Linked DNA regions of Homo sapiens: all the other regions are linked to region 1. The links are contacts of gene promoters, found by promoter capture Hi-C in blood cells and fetal thymus (Javierre and others, 2016). All regions are on one chromosome and are shown on one strand. Each heading gives the region's core, a stretch centred on a gene start or on the middle of the fragment in contact. The rest is flanking DNA. Distances are from core to core; before and after follow the strand shown.

Region 1 (3,831 bases), core at 742-3,241:
TCGTCCTTATATGCCTGGAAAAGAATGAGGCGCTTTCTTCTACCCAAGAAAAGCCCTTGAAACCTGGCCGAGGATCTGACTCTGGCGCCTGCTCTCTCTCGCCTTGGTGGGGCTCACGGCAGCGCACGTTGGCTCCAGGCTGGAGGAAGGGGGGCGTTGCTGTCACCCAGCTCCGCACTCGCTCTTGCAGCCTCCCAGCCTACTACAGAGCTGCTGAAGTTCCAGAATGGGCCCCTGTTGTCCTTGGGGTACAGTCTGCACCTTTAATGCGAAACCCAGCAGAGGCAGCACCAAGAGTCAAGTCTGCCTTTCCCGTCCTCCTGTCCCCAACACCTGGCGCCGCCAACTCCCGACAAAGCGACTCCTGGTGCTTGGTGATCTGCCCTCTTTCGGGGATTCTACCTTATCTTTCTTCCACTCTCTAACACTACCCTTCTTTTGCTTTCTTTTTTACACAAAAATTAGCAAAGTCCTCCCCTCTTTTTCCCCTTCTCCAAGTTGGAGGATTCATCCAGTCATCAGGGAACACAGGAAAGGTTCTAGCTCAAGGACCCTTTGCCCCGGGAGGCAGGAGCTTGGTAGAACTGGAAGTTGGAGAACAGTGAGGTAGACACAACCAGAGTCTGGAACAGGGGCCCTTTCTTTCCCAGACGAGTTTCCCCTCGCTTTTCTGGACCAGCCAGCCGGGGTCAGCCTCCCAGGCCACCCTACATCGCGCGCTCCCCAGGGACCTCCTGCCCATCCCTCCATCCTCTCTCTCGCGTCCCAAGTCTAGGCTGCTCCCGCCCAGGTGACAGCCCCTCCTGTCCCGCTGCCTCCCGTGAGTCCCTCCTACCGCCTCGTCTGGTCACTAGAATAGTTTTGAACCCTTGGGTTCTACACGGTTTCCCTCCCAAGCCAGGCAGCGCATCTCTCAAGAATAGGGAAAGGTCTCCATCAACTTTGCCGTCACGGAGCAGTGACCGCGGGCGGGCGCGGGGCACACACCTGCCTGCACGCGGGCGCGGGTCCCCGGGTAGGGGAGCACTTGCGGGGCGCGGGAGCCGCCCTCGGCCACGGCGAAGGCGCCCTAAACTACAGCCGGCAGGGACGCGCGGCGCTGGGAGGGCATCAGACGGGAATTTCGAATTGAGCTTGGGAAGCGGAGACCAGAAAATGGTGATTCTAAACACACGCGAGCGTCGCCACACACAGCAGTTCCACCCGAAAGGCGCACACTTTTGAGAACAGACCATCGTGGATAGCACCGCAAAGAAACCTCCTCCAAGGCACGTTCCTCGTTGGAACTGACAACCCCTTTCGTCTACTGACTTCCCCGCACGGTCGAAGACAGCCCGGTGCACTCGAGGATGGGGACTCAGGCGCTCCTGGAGTCCCCAGGTCCGTCTGCGGAGCCCCCCGGCAGGTGTGGGCCCCCACCTGGCCAAGCAACAAGCGGGCCATCCGCCTAAGGGCCGGGTCCCTCTCTGCCCTGTACCCGCACGGGTCACCTCTCCCTGCCCCCCCCCCAGGCAGCCAGCCGGGCCGAACGAGCGCCGGGGAAGGAGCAAGCCGAGCGAGCCACTCACCCCAAGCTTCCTGCTGCGGATTTTCACGTAGCCCTGCTTGACTATGTCGTTAAAGTTGGAGGCCATGGCCAGCGCGATCGGGCTCCTGCGCCCCGCGATCCGCTCTCCGGAGTCGAGAGCCGCCGTCCGCCGCCGGGTCTGCGCGGGTCTCGCATCCAGCCGGCCGCCGCCAGCAGCAGCGCCGCCGCCCGCTCTTCCCCGAGCTCCCGCCGGTGGGGACGCGGGGTCGCCTGCAGGGCCGCCGCGGACGGGGAACGGGGCCCGGCGCCGCGAGCCGCGCCAGCCCTCCGCGTTCTGGCGCTCACCTTCGCTCCCCGCCGCGAGCCCAGCGCCGCGGCCCGCGCCTCCGCCAGCTGCGGGAGCCCCCACCGCGCCGCCGCCCCCGGCAGCACCCACGGGCTGGCGCCTCGCTCGGCGGCGCACAGCTGGCCGGAGCGCACCACCGCGGCTCCCCGGCGCGGGGGGAGGGGGCGGGCCGGGGGGGGCGGGCTGATGCGCCGGCCCCGCTCCCTCCCCCTGGCCCGTGGGGTGGCTGGGCTCGGAGACGCTCGCAAGACGCGCTCCATCCCTCTCCGCGCGGGTGGGAGCGCCTCCGCCGCCGGGCGCCCCGAGGCCCGCTCCCCACCCGGCTCCCCGGTCCCTCAGCGCTCCCCGGGCGCGAGATTCCTAAGGACACGGCGCCTCATTCCCGGGCTCTAAATCTCCACTCGCAAGCTGTGCAGCGGGGAAAGGGCAGTGGGGACACTTCCAACGCGGAAGGCCAGCGGGAGCGAGACACTTATTTCATTGGCCTTGTTTACAGTACATTTTTATTCCCAAGCACTCGCGGCCGTTCCAGGTCTCTGCCCCGTTAGGAAGTGTAAATCGACGCCAGACCCTTCCTGGTGCACACAAAGAGACCAATCGTGCGCATGTGTCTAATCCTCCCGCAGCCTAGAGACAGGCAGGCGGGCGAGGCAGCCGGGCGCCGACGTCCTCTGCTGAAGGAGTGGAGAAGACCGACCGACCCGAGTGGTTGATTTATGCATGCGTTTTCGTTAACTAGGACTGAAAGTGGCTCCTGGCTCTTCTGGGAAAATGGAGAACGTGGTTGTTATCAATGGATACCAATGACTTCCTGAAATGCTCAACTTGTACAAACAAAAAATGAAAAACTTTCTCCCCTTAATGTAGAAACACATGGCATTTTAAAAGTAGGTTTTTCATTATTGTAAAGATGTTTTAATTTTTAGGATTATGTTTTTGTGAAAGATTCGAGGAAAAAGAGCGATGTTGAGTTTTGGCCGGAGGCAACATATGGATTTTTACTATAGGCTAGAACATTTAGTACTTACTTCTAAGGATGTTTCTAATTAGTAAAATGTATAAAGATTGACAATTTTTAAGGTGACTCCTGCAAGAGTTATATTTAGTAAAAGTTCAAAAGATGATGTTTGTTTATTACGGTGAGCAGTATTTTTCCAGGTTCTCATTTAAAATTTCCTACCCCATTTGAAACACAATAATAGAAAGAAAGGAAACTTACTTGAATGAGGTTGTGGGGGGAATGTAAAAACTTGAAGGACAAGGTAGCTCAGTCCAACCAGATGAGCATCCAAGGGAGATTTTTGTCTCATCCTTTGCAGAAATCTCCATCTAGAGCCCGTGTAAACCAATGGAAATTCTTACTTGCTTTAACAGCACACTATTCCTATTCATTCATTAATGTGGGCTAGCCTTTTTTTTTTTTTAAATAAAAAAACCTTCCACCGTGCAAAGTACCAGATGCTGGGGCAGATCAGATACTAAGGATAACATGGTAAAATCCTTTCCGCTGTCACTCTGGAATGGGCCCAAACTCTGACCTTCCCAGAAAATTTGCATAAACTCCCTGGAATGGGCTCAAGCTCTGACCTTCTCAGAAAATTTGCATAAACTCTCTGATAACTCCTTGTAATTCTTTCCTCTAAATACCTGGCACAGCTTGTCTATTCCACCCACTTCTTACTATTTCATACGCTGCATGGCCATTTTTTTTAGAAATGTAAAGACTGCTTTAGGTTTGTAAATGCTTTAAATAAGTGATTTCATTCAGCCCTCTTTGCAACCACATATGTTAAATGTGGTTGCCAGTTACTAGAGGAAATTGAGGCTCACAGACATTCAGTTGCAGAGCCACACGTTTCAAGATTGATTTGAGGTCTACAGTGATTTCTATGACCACTGACTCCTTCTCCTATTTATATAATCATCTGTTTCACAAGTCAATTATCAGTTCTTTGAA
Region 2 (3,831 bases), core at 399-2,898, 680 kb before region 1:
GCGGCATTTATTCTTCAGAATCTCCTTGTAATTCCAATGCCTACAGAAATTATAAAGGATTATACTTGGCAGGTGGGTGATTTTAAACAATTATCAACCTAGTAGATGTTTCAAATTAATTGGTGATAAATTTTCAGTATAAGTAGTATATTTCATTATTGATGAAACTATATACAAGACAGCAAGGGCCTCTTAAAATAGAACGTAGAATTTGTTCTTATGCCGACCAGACTTAAAAATTCTTCTCTATAGTGTTCACAATAATTTAAAGCAAATAATAATAGTTAACATATGTTTACTATGTTTTAGGCACCCTTCTAGAAATGTAAGACATAGTAACTTGTATAATTGTTTGAGTTGTGAACTGTTACTATCCTTATTTTCTAAGCTTAGGAACTTTTGCATAGAGAGTTTAAATAGTTTGTCCTAAATCACACAGCTAGTCAGTGGTACGCCTTTGCTTTGAGTCTAGGCAGTCTCTTACCCACTTTGCTGTATTACTTCTCTAATTTAGTAATAATAAACAAATTTGTAGATAGTTAAATATGTGTTGATGTTAACATCTTTTTTTCCTTTTCTAGGTTAGTGCACAGTGCGGGTTATAGTGTATCTTGCTTTGTTTTCTGTTGGGTTAACTTTCTTTTTCATGTTCTGAATATCACATCAGTAAATGGTTACCTAACATTTTTATAGCTTACATTAAAAAAATTCTAGCTTCATGGGATATATGTACATGTTTGTTACATAAGTATATTGCGTAATGGTGGTGGGGATTGGGGTTCTCGTGTACTCATTACCCAAATATTGAACATTGTACCCAGTTAGGTAATTTATAACCTCAGCCGCCTCCCCCACTCCCTCCTTGGGAGTCTCAGTGTCTGTTATGTCTGTCTTTATGTCCATGTGTATTCATTGGTTAGCTCCCACTTATACGTGAGAACACGCAATATTTGATTTTCTATTTTTGAGTTAGTTCACTTAGATAATGGCCTCCACCTCCATCCATGTTGCTGCAGTTTTAGGTAATTTGGAAGATACAAAAGTACACTTATTGGGGATATAAGATGTGCTGTTTCTGTCCTTTTACCTATCCATATATTTTCACCTTATAGGGATATATTTATCATATTGCTACACCTCACTCCTCAAAATCCTGTATAAATCTAAGGTTTATTTTTAAGTTTTAATTAGACTATACTCTTAGAGGAGTTAGTGAAACAAGCTGAACCGTAGCAAGGGCAAGTTTCCGCACATGACCCGAAGCATGAATCCAGGTGGTTGTCAAGGCCCAGGTAGCATTTAACTCTTGGAAGGCTTACCTCTCCAAACTTTACAAACCCAGGGTAACCCTACCAGTCATTGTAAATCCCAGGCTTGTAATTTGCTCGTAATTTCTTTAACATTGCCTTCTGATAATGGCTGCTTATCTACTTTCCATGTTGTAATAAAACCAGGAGACAAAACTGGAGGGAATATGCAGGATTAATAGTTATATTAATAGTGTAGTAGTTTTGGTACCTGTTATCCGGAGACTACATTTTAAAACATGTTGTTTTTGGCTCAAATACAAATAATCTCTACTCCCATTGTTAAACTAGTGACCCATGTACATGGATATACTTGGTGATGTACTACCAATGAATTTTTAATTATTGAAATAAGTATAAAGGCAGAGTATATTAAAGTTCCTGGGACATTATGTTGTAATACAGAACCGTATGTAGCTGTTCATATTTTTCTCTTAGAAATTAAATAGTAAAGTTCCTGTTTGTTGCTGGTGGCATGCTTACTGCAGTTTATTGGTTTTGTTATTCTCCAGTCTTCATCATGGAAATCCTTTTCTACTAAAAAGTGGAAAATAGTGATTTAAGTTAGCTTTTGGAGTTTTGGCCTTGCTAAGTTGGCCAAAATAAAAAAAGTTGGAGAGCCACTGCTGTCCCAAACAATAGTTGATTACAACTTTTGCTAGTCTTAGGAAAAATTAGATAAATAAGGACAATCTTGTATGCTTTTTAATAAACTCAGATTTTCTTCCTCTCTTTTCAGTCTTTTTTTTTTTTTGGTTATTTTTGTTTGTGTAAGTGTCCTTCCTTGGCAGTGAAAATAGTTAACTCAGTATATCTGTCATCCAATTTTAAGAAAGTTTAGTGGGGTCTGAAATTCCAAAGTAGAAACAGCTTCTGCAAGAAGGAAACAAGATGGTTGTCTCTGGGTGCAGCTAGTGGGGCACATGGTCCTTTGCAACCATGAAAAAGGGGCCACATAGCCAGTATTTTAAAATTCAAACAGTCTTTGGTAGAATTATGAATAATAATCTTATTCAACAAAATGTTTCATTTACTTATTTTAGTGTCCCTTTCATAGTGTTGTGGAGGATATAGCATGAAACAGCATGTTTAGGAGCTTTGTTAAAATTTTATTTTGGTTGAGGTAAATATTTGATTTTTTTTTTTTAACAAAGAGAATTGCTTCTATTGCTTTGCACTTTGTTTTCCTGCCTGCAGTCTAAATTAATGCCCGCTAGTGCTCTTGTTTCATAGGCTTTCTGAAGCATTCTCTTTATAATTACTACTCCTTTTCCTCTCCTTCCTCTGCACAGTAGCATAAATTCCTACTTCATGTCATGACATAGAATTGTTGTACTTGTGAATAGTAATAATATGCATATATGAATTATGAATAATATTATAGCTGAGTTTCCCTTTTATTGTTAGATGCCAGAAAGTAGAGCCCTTTTATCAATTGTGACTTTTTCTGTATGTACTTAAAAAAAAAAAAAGATGGGGTCTCACTGTGTTGTCCAGGCTGGCCTTGAGTTCCTGGGCTCAAGTGATACGCTTGCCTCAGCCTCCTGAGTAGCTGGGACCCCAGGCACATGCTGCCACACCCAGCTTACCTTCTAAGCTTTATTCATGGTTGCACTTTTTCCATATCTCTGGCTTTTTTCTTTCTTTTATTCCTGATATGCATTTACTATCATGTTACAATTTACCTTTCCTTGTAATGGGCCTTAAATCTTTTCTCGGACAAGATAGGAAGTAAATAATTTAAAACAATTTATTTTTTTAAAGTATTAAATAATTTTACCAACCACTGCAATTCCCATTTTAATCTTCCTTTTAAAGACACTAACATTTAATGTCTTACCACTAAATTAGGTTATTTTCCATATTTGCATTATTTCTTACCATTTAACTTAATCTTCCTGTGTAGAATGTTTGTTTCTGACAGGACTACATTTTTTATATTTTAAAAAATGTTTCTCCCAACCCCTACCACAGAGAAAGTAAGTGCTCCATCTGTCTTGACTGATTCATTAAAATGTGCAAAACATTTGAGTTATCCTTTTGGTCTTAATATCATAAGTAAATACAGTTAGAAATAAAGCCTTAATTTTCATAGCATAAGTCCCCTTTTATTTTTCTGTGGATGCAGAAGCATACTGGAAGTGGGGTGGTCACCAAGAGGAGGAGCAGATGAAGTATCTCGGCCTGTCTTCCCTTGACATCTAGCACTCCTACCAGGGGCCTTGATACCAGGCCCCTGCTGGATATGAGAACCCAGTTCCTGCTGTGTCAGTCTTTGGTGTGTCACAGCTCTTTTATATTCAGGACACTAACTTTTCAGAGGGATATTTACAAACATTGGTCTTGTTCTTGAGTCAAACTCAGCCTCATTCAAAGCTACATCCCAGCTGGGTGTGGTGGCTCATGCCTGTAATCCCAACACTTGGGGAGGCTGAGGTGAGAGGATCACTTGAGCCCAGGAGTTTGAGACTAGCCTGGGCAACATAGTGAGACCCCATCTCTAAAAAAAATTTTAAAAATTGGC
Region 3 (3,831 bases), core at 511-3,010, 670 kb before region 1:
CACTCATTTGATGGTAGTTAAAATTGTTTTATAGAAGGAAGAGTAGACAGAGGATAGTTTAAGCAGGGATGGATCCAAGAGGCTTTCTAAAAGAAAAATAGTTTTGACATAGGCATCACTGATAGGACATACAAATACCTCCAGCATGGTGACCCCAGGAAAACTTGAGGAGGTGGTAGTTTGTGTGATGATGGAGAGAGAAAGAAAATGTTATACTCTGTTTAAATAAATTTCAGCTACCTGTGGATTATCCAGAGTCTAACAACCTCTTATATTTAGTTAGGAGGAAAATACAAGTGAGACAAGCTCTTGGAAATTTGTGCTCTTAGATTACACACAGGATGGCACAGGAACTGTGACTGTGTTGTGGTGATGATCTGTCTCTTTAAGTGGTCCTTTGGTTAGACATGCAAGAATCGTCTATCATCTTCTGCTCATTCCTTCAGAGGACTTTTCTGAGCTTTCTTTTTTTTACATATATTGTACATAATCCATTTGAATTATGAATCTATTAGTTGAAATAATTTAAACTTCTTGTTATAATTTGGTTAGAATTAATGATTACAAATTGAGAAGCATGCCAAAGCTTTCCTGCTCCTGGGCATATAGAGAAAGGTATTATTTATTAAAATGAACACATGAAGCTTAGAATCTCTTAGAAACCCTTCATATCTTATATTTTTCCATGTTTTCAAAATGTGGCTAGACTTGTACTTTATTTTTTTCACACTACAATCCTTATTTTCTCCCTTTGTACCTTTTTAAAAACAATTAAATAAACTTTTTTGGCACCAGTACTGCTTTTGAGGGAAGTTGATGGAACTATTACAAGATCATTTTGGCAAATACAATATTCAAGTTCTGAATTAACTTTCAAAAAAAGTTAAAGTGTCTAGTGAAATCACTTGCTTCTGTAAGGCAGATACAAAGAAAATCATTTTTGTACATTGATGCATTTTTGCTTATATGACAGAAATTGTTTTTTACATTCCAGTTCTACTTGGATATGGCAAATGACTCTGCTATTTTCAGTGATTTCAAAGGGACTTTCTTAATTTTAGCTGCTTATTTTACACTGAAGCATAATTTAGAAACCTTCTTTAGTTACCAAATCTGCTTACAAACACACTGAAGAACAATTTTTTTCAGTTTTTATAAGCAAGATTTGAGTCCATTTTATTTTTTTATTTTCCCCTAGTTTTGAGCTAAAATGACAAATAAAATTGTATATATTTGAGATATACAGTGAGATTACTTGACATATGTATATGTGATGAAATGATTACCACAGTCAAATTAGTTAACACATCTGTCACCTAAGAGTCAACCTTTTTTTTTTGTGGTGAGAACACTTAAGAACTACTCTCTTTCAAGTAGACTGTGCAGTGTTATTAACCATATTAACCATATTCACCATGCTACACATTAGACCATATTAACCATATTCACCATGCTACACATTAGATCCCCAGAACATACTCATCTTATCTGAAAGTTTGCACTCTTTGACCAAACATCTCCCCTTTTCCCCAGCTCCTATCCCCTAGCAACATCCATTACACTAATCTGAGTCTGTTTTAGGACAGTACCTTTAAGTAGCATCAGCCTGCTCTAAAAAGCTTGTATTGTCTTTTGTAATATCTGTAAAGTAATAAGGCTAGAAATATATTCAAATTCAGATTTTTTTGTCTTACCGAGGGATTATAAATTGAAGATCTCAGGATATGTCATGTGGCAGATGTGAAAGCGAGGGAAAAGTCTAGATTGTGATTTTGCACTTAGACCATTCTAATGAATTGAGCAAGTGATAGATACAAGAATTAGACTCTCGCTGTTGTAAGAGGACAACCCTAGTTATCCTACTTACTGTGAGGTACAGAGCAGAGCAGCGAGAAGCTTGACAGGAACGGATGACTTCAGCAGACTAAGTTTGCTCTTAAACTAAGCCAATTCCTCCTCCTTCACCTGGGATGGGGCAGCTGAAGTTAGTCTAGCTGAAGTTCCGCGGGGACACAGGGGGATCAGGGAGAAAGAAGCAAGCCTCTCCTCGCAAACAAGGCCAGCCAGCTTTCTCAAGAGGTACGTCTGAGGACTTCCTCTGATTCTAACGAATTTATGCTGTCATGAATGCAGTTCTGGACTGAGAATCCTAGTCTCAACTCAGACAAATCCCTTAACTTGTGGTCCTTTTCTCTAAATGAGGACGTGGACTAGGTCAGGCTTTTTGTACCTATAGCTTCGTAGGCTCATACTGCACCTTCCAGTAGCTAATACTTAATGCCAAAATTGTCTAGTTATTACTTGGATTTTAAGGTGAAAAGTAACATGTTTACATATCGATGTACTTTATCAAATGTAACCAAATACTATCGATTGGAGATTATATCTAAACAAGCAAAGATTTGAGCATAGAACTGGGACAATTTGCTTTAATACTTTTTTGCTTTTAGTTATTAAAATAGCAATATATTAGTTTAGCACACTTAAAAAATAGAGGCTAGTAGAAATATAAATCATCCATAATCAATTTTAAAGCACCATATAAAGCAATCATTGTGTTTCCCCAACCACATGGGGTAAGTTATAATACAATAAGGTACTTTCTAAAAGCATCTTTTCTAAACTTGTGTATCCCTTCTGTGGACTATACTAAGGAAAATCACATCTTTATTAATGCCTGACCTTTGTCATGAATCACAACTTTGCTTTCTTCTAATGAGCCAGGTATTTAGTGGGCCCTTATAAGCTTTCTTTTCCCACACCGATCGTTGAAACCGCAAACCAGGTACCTATTCTATTTATATCAGTAATAAGGCCTTCTTGAGTCTTTATCAGTTGAAAGAATGTTCAGTGAAATGATAAAGGATTTCAGCATCATTATCCCCTTAACTTTTCTTATACAACCAAAAGAGTTGTGGCAGGAGCCAGATATATTAGCTTGTGCATAGTTTGTGATATCAGTCTTGGCATAGGATTATTTTCTTCACAGAACTATAAATGTTGTCTTGATATCTGTTGACAGGAACATTTTTTCACATATCTCTCATTGCCAAATTGTAGGCAAATATATTTTTAAAAATAAACAAGCTTGCTGGGCGCGGTGGCTCACGCCTGTAATCCCAGCACTTTGGGAGGCAGAGGCGGGCGGATCACGAGGTCAGGAGATCGAGACCATCCTGGCTAACACAGTGAAACCCTGCCTCTACTAAAAATACAAAAAATTAGCCGGGCGTGGTGGCGGGCGCCTGTAGTCCCAGCTACTCGGGAGGCTGAGGCAGGAGAATGGCGTGAACCCGGGAGGCGGAGCTTGCAGTGAGCCGAGATCGTGCCACTGCACTCCAGCCTGGGCAACAGAGTGAGACTCCGTCTCAAAAAAAAAAAAAATAAACAAGCTTTAGGTTATTTTTACTTAGTATCTGGATCTAATACTATATAAAATAAGGCATTTGATGTTTGTTTATGATTGACTTATTTAGACTGAACTTTTTTCCAGATTTACTTTTTAGATTATGTGCTTAGCCTACATTTTTTAGCTGCAGCTTTCTCACTTATTTCTTGGCATCATGACTGTTATACTTACTTAATGTGGTGAAAGATGGTTAAGGGCTCAAGTTAAAAGGGGGATTTAAAAAACTGTATATTCCATTTTTAGTAATTTCTTCAAATTTATATTCTCTTTACTATTAGAAACTGCAAATGAAAATAACCTTAGTTTTTGCTTTCATTTCATCATGGTAATTCTAAGGTACTCTAAGTGTTAAGATATATACACAATCAATGTACAAATACTGTGAGCTATATAGGATCTGAGTCTGGAATGATGGTTTATAA

Evidence for each region. Contacts are between HindIII fragments. The CHiCAGO score rates a contact against its expected background, and 5 or more counts as called.
Region 2: a fragment that was not itself captured here is called in contact with the fragment with the promoter of DOK6 in region 1 in 1 of 17 cell types (total CD4 T cells); the score reaches 5.6 in total CD4 T cells.
Region 3: a fragment that was not itself captured here is called in contact with the fragment with the promoter of DOK6 in region 1 in 1 of 17 cell types (non-activated CD4 T cells); the score reaches 5.1 in non-activated CD4 T cells.

What each region holds. Positions count from the first base shown.
Region 1 is chr18:69,399,048-69,402,878 of GRCh38, reverse strand. It overlaps DOK6 (docking protein 6), which reads right to left and starts at 1,991. Exons shown (of 8, transcript NM_152721.6): 1 at 1,569-1,991. The coding sequence starts at 1,634. The HindIII fragment of the contact is 5,350 bases long and covers 1,577-3,831 here.
Region 2 is chr18:70,082,854-70,086,684 of GRCh38, reverse strand. RTTN (rotatin) reads left to right here. Exons shown (of 49, transcript NM_173630.4): 32 at 1-72. Among named protein-coding and RNA genes, the nearest start is that of RTTN, 120 kb to the left of the region's middle. The HindIII fragment of the contact is 2,516 bases long and covers 391-2,906 here.
Region 3 is chr18:70,066,717-70,070,547 of GRCh38, reverse strand. The region is part of intron 34 of RTTN (rotatin); the gene reads left to right. Among named protein-coding and RNA genes, the nearest start is that of CD226, 120 kb to the right of the region's middle. The HindIII fragment of the contact is 277 bases long and covers 1,622-1,898 here.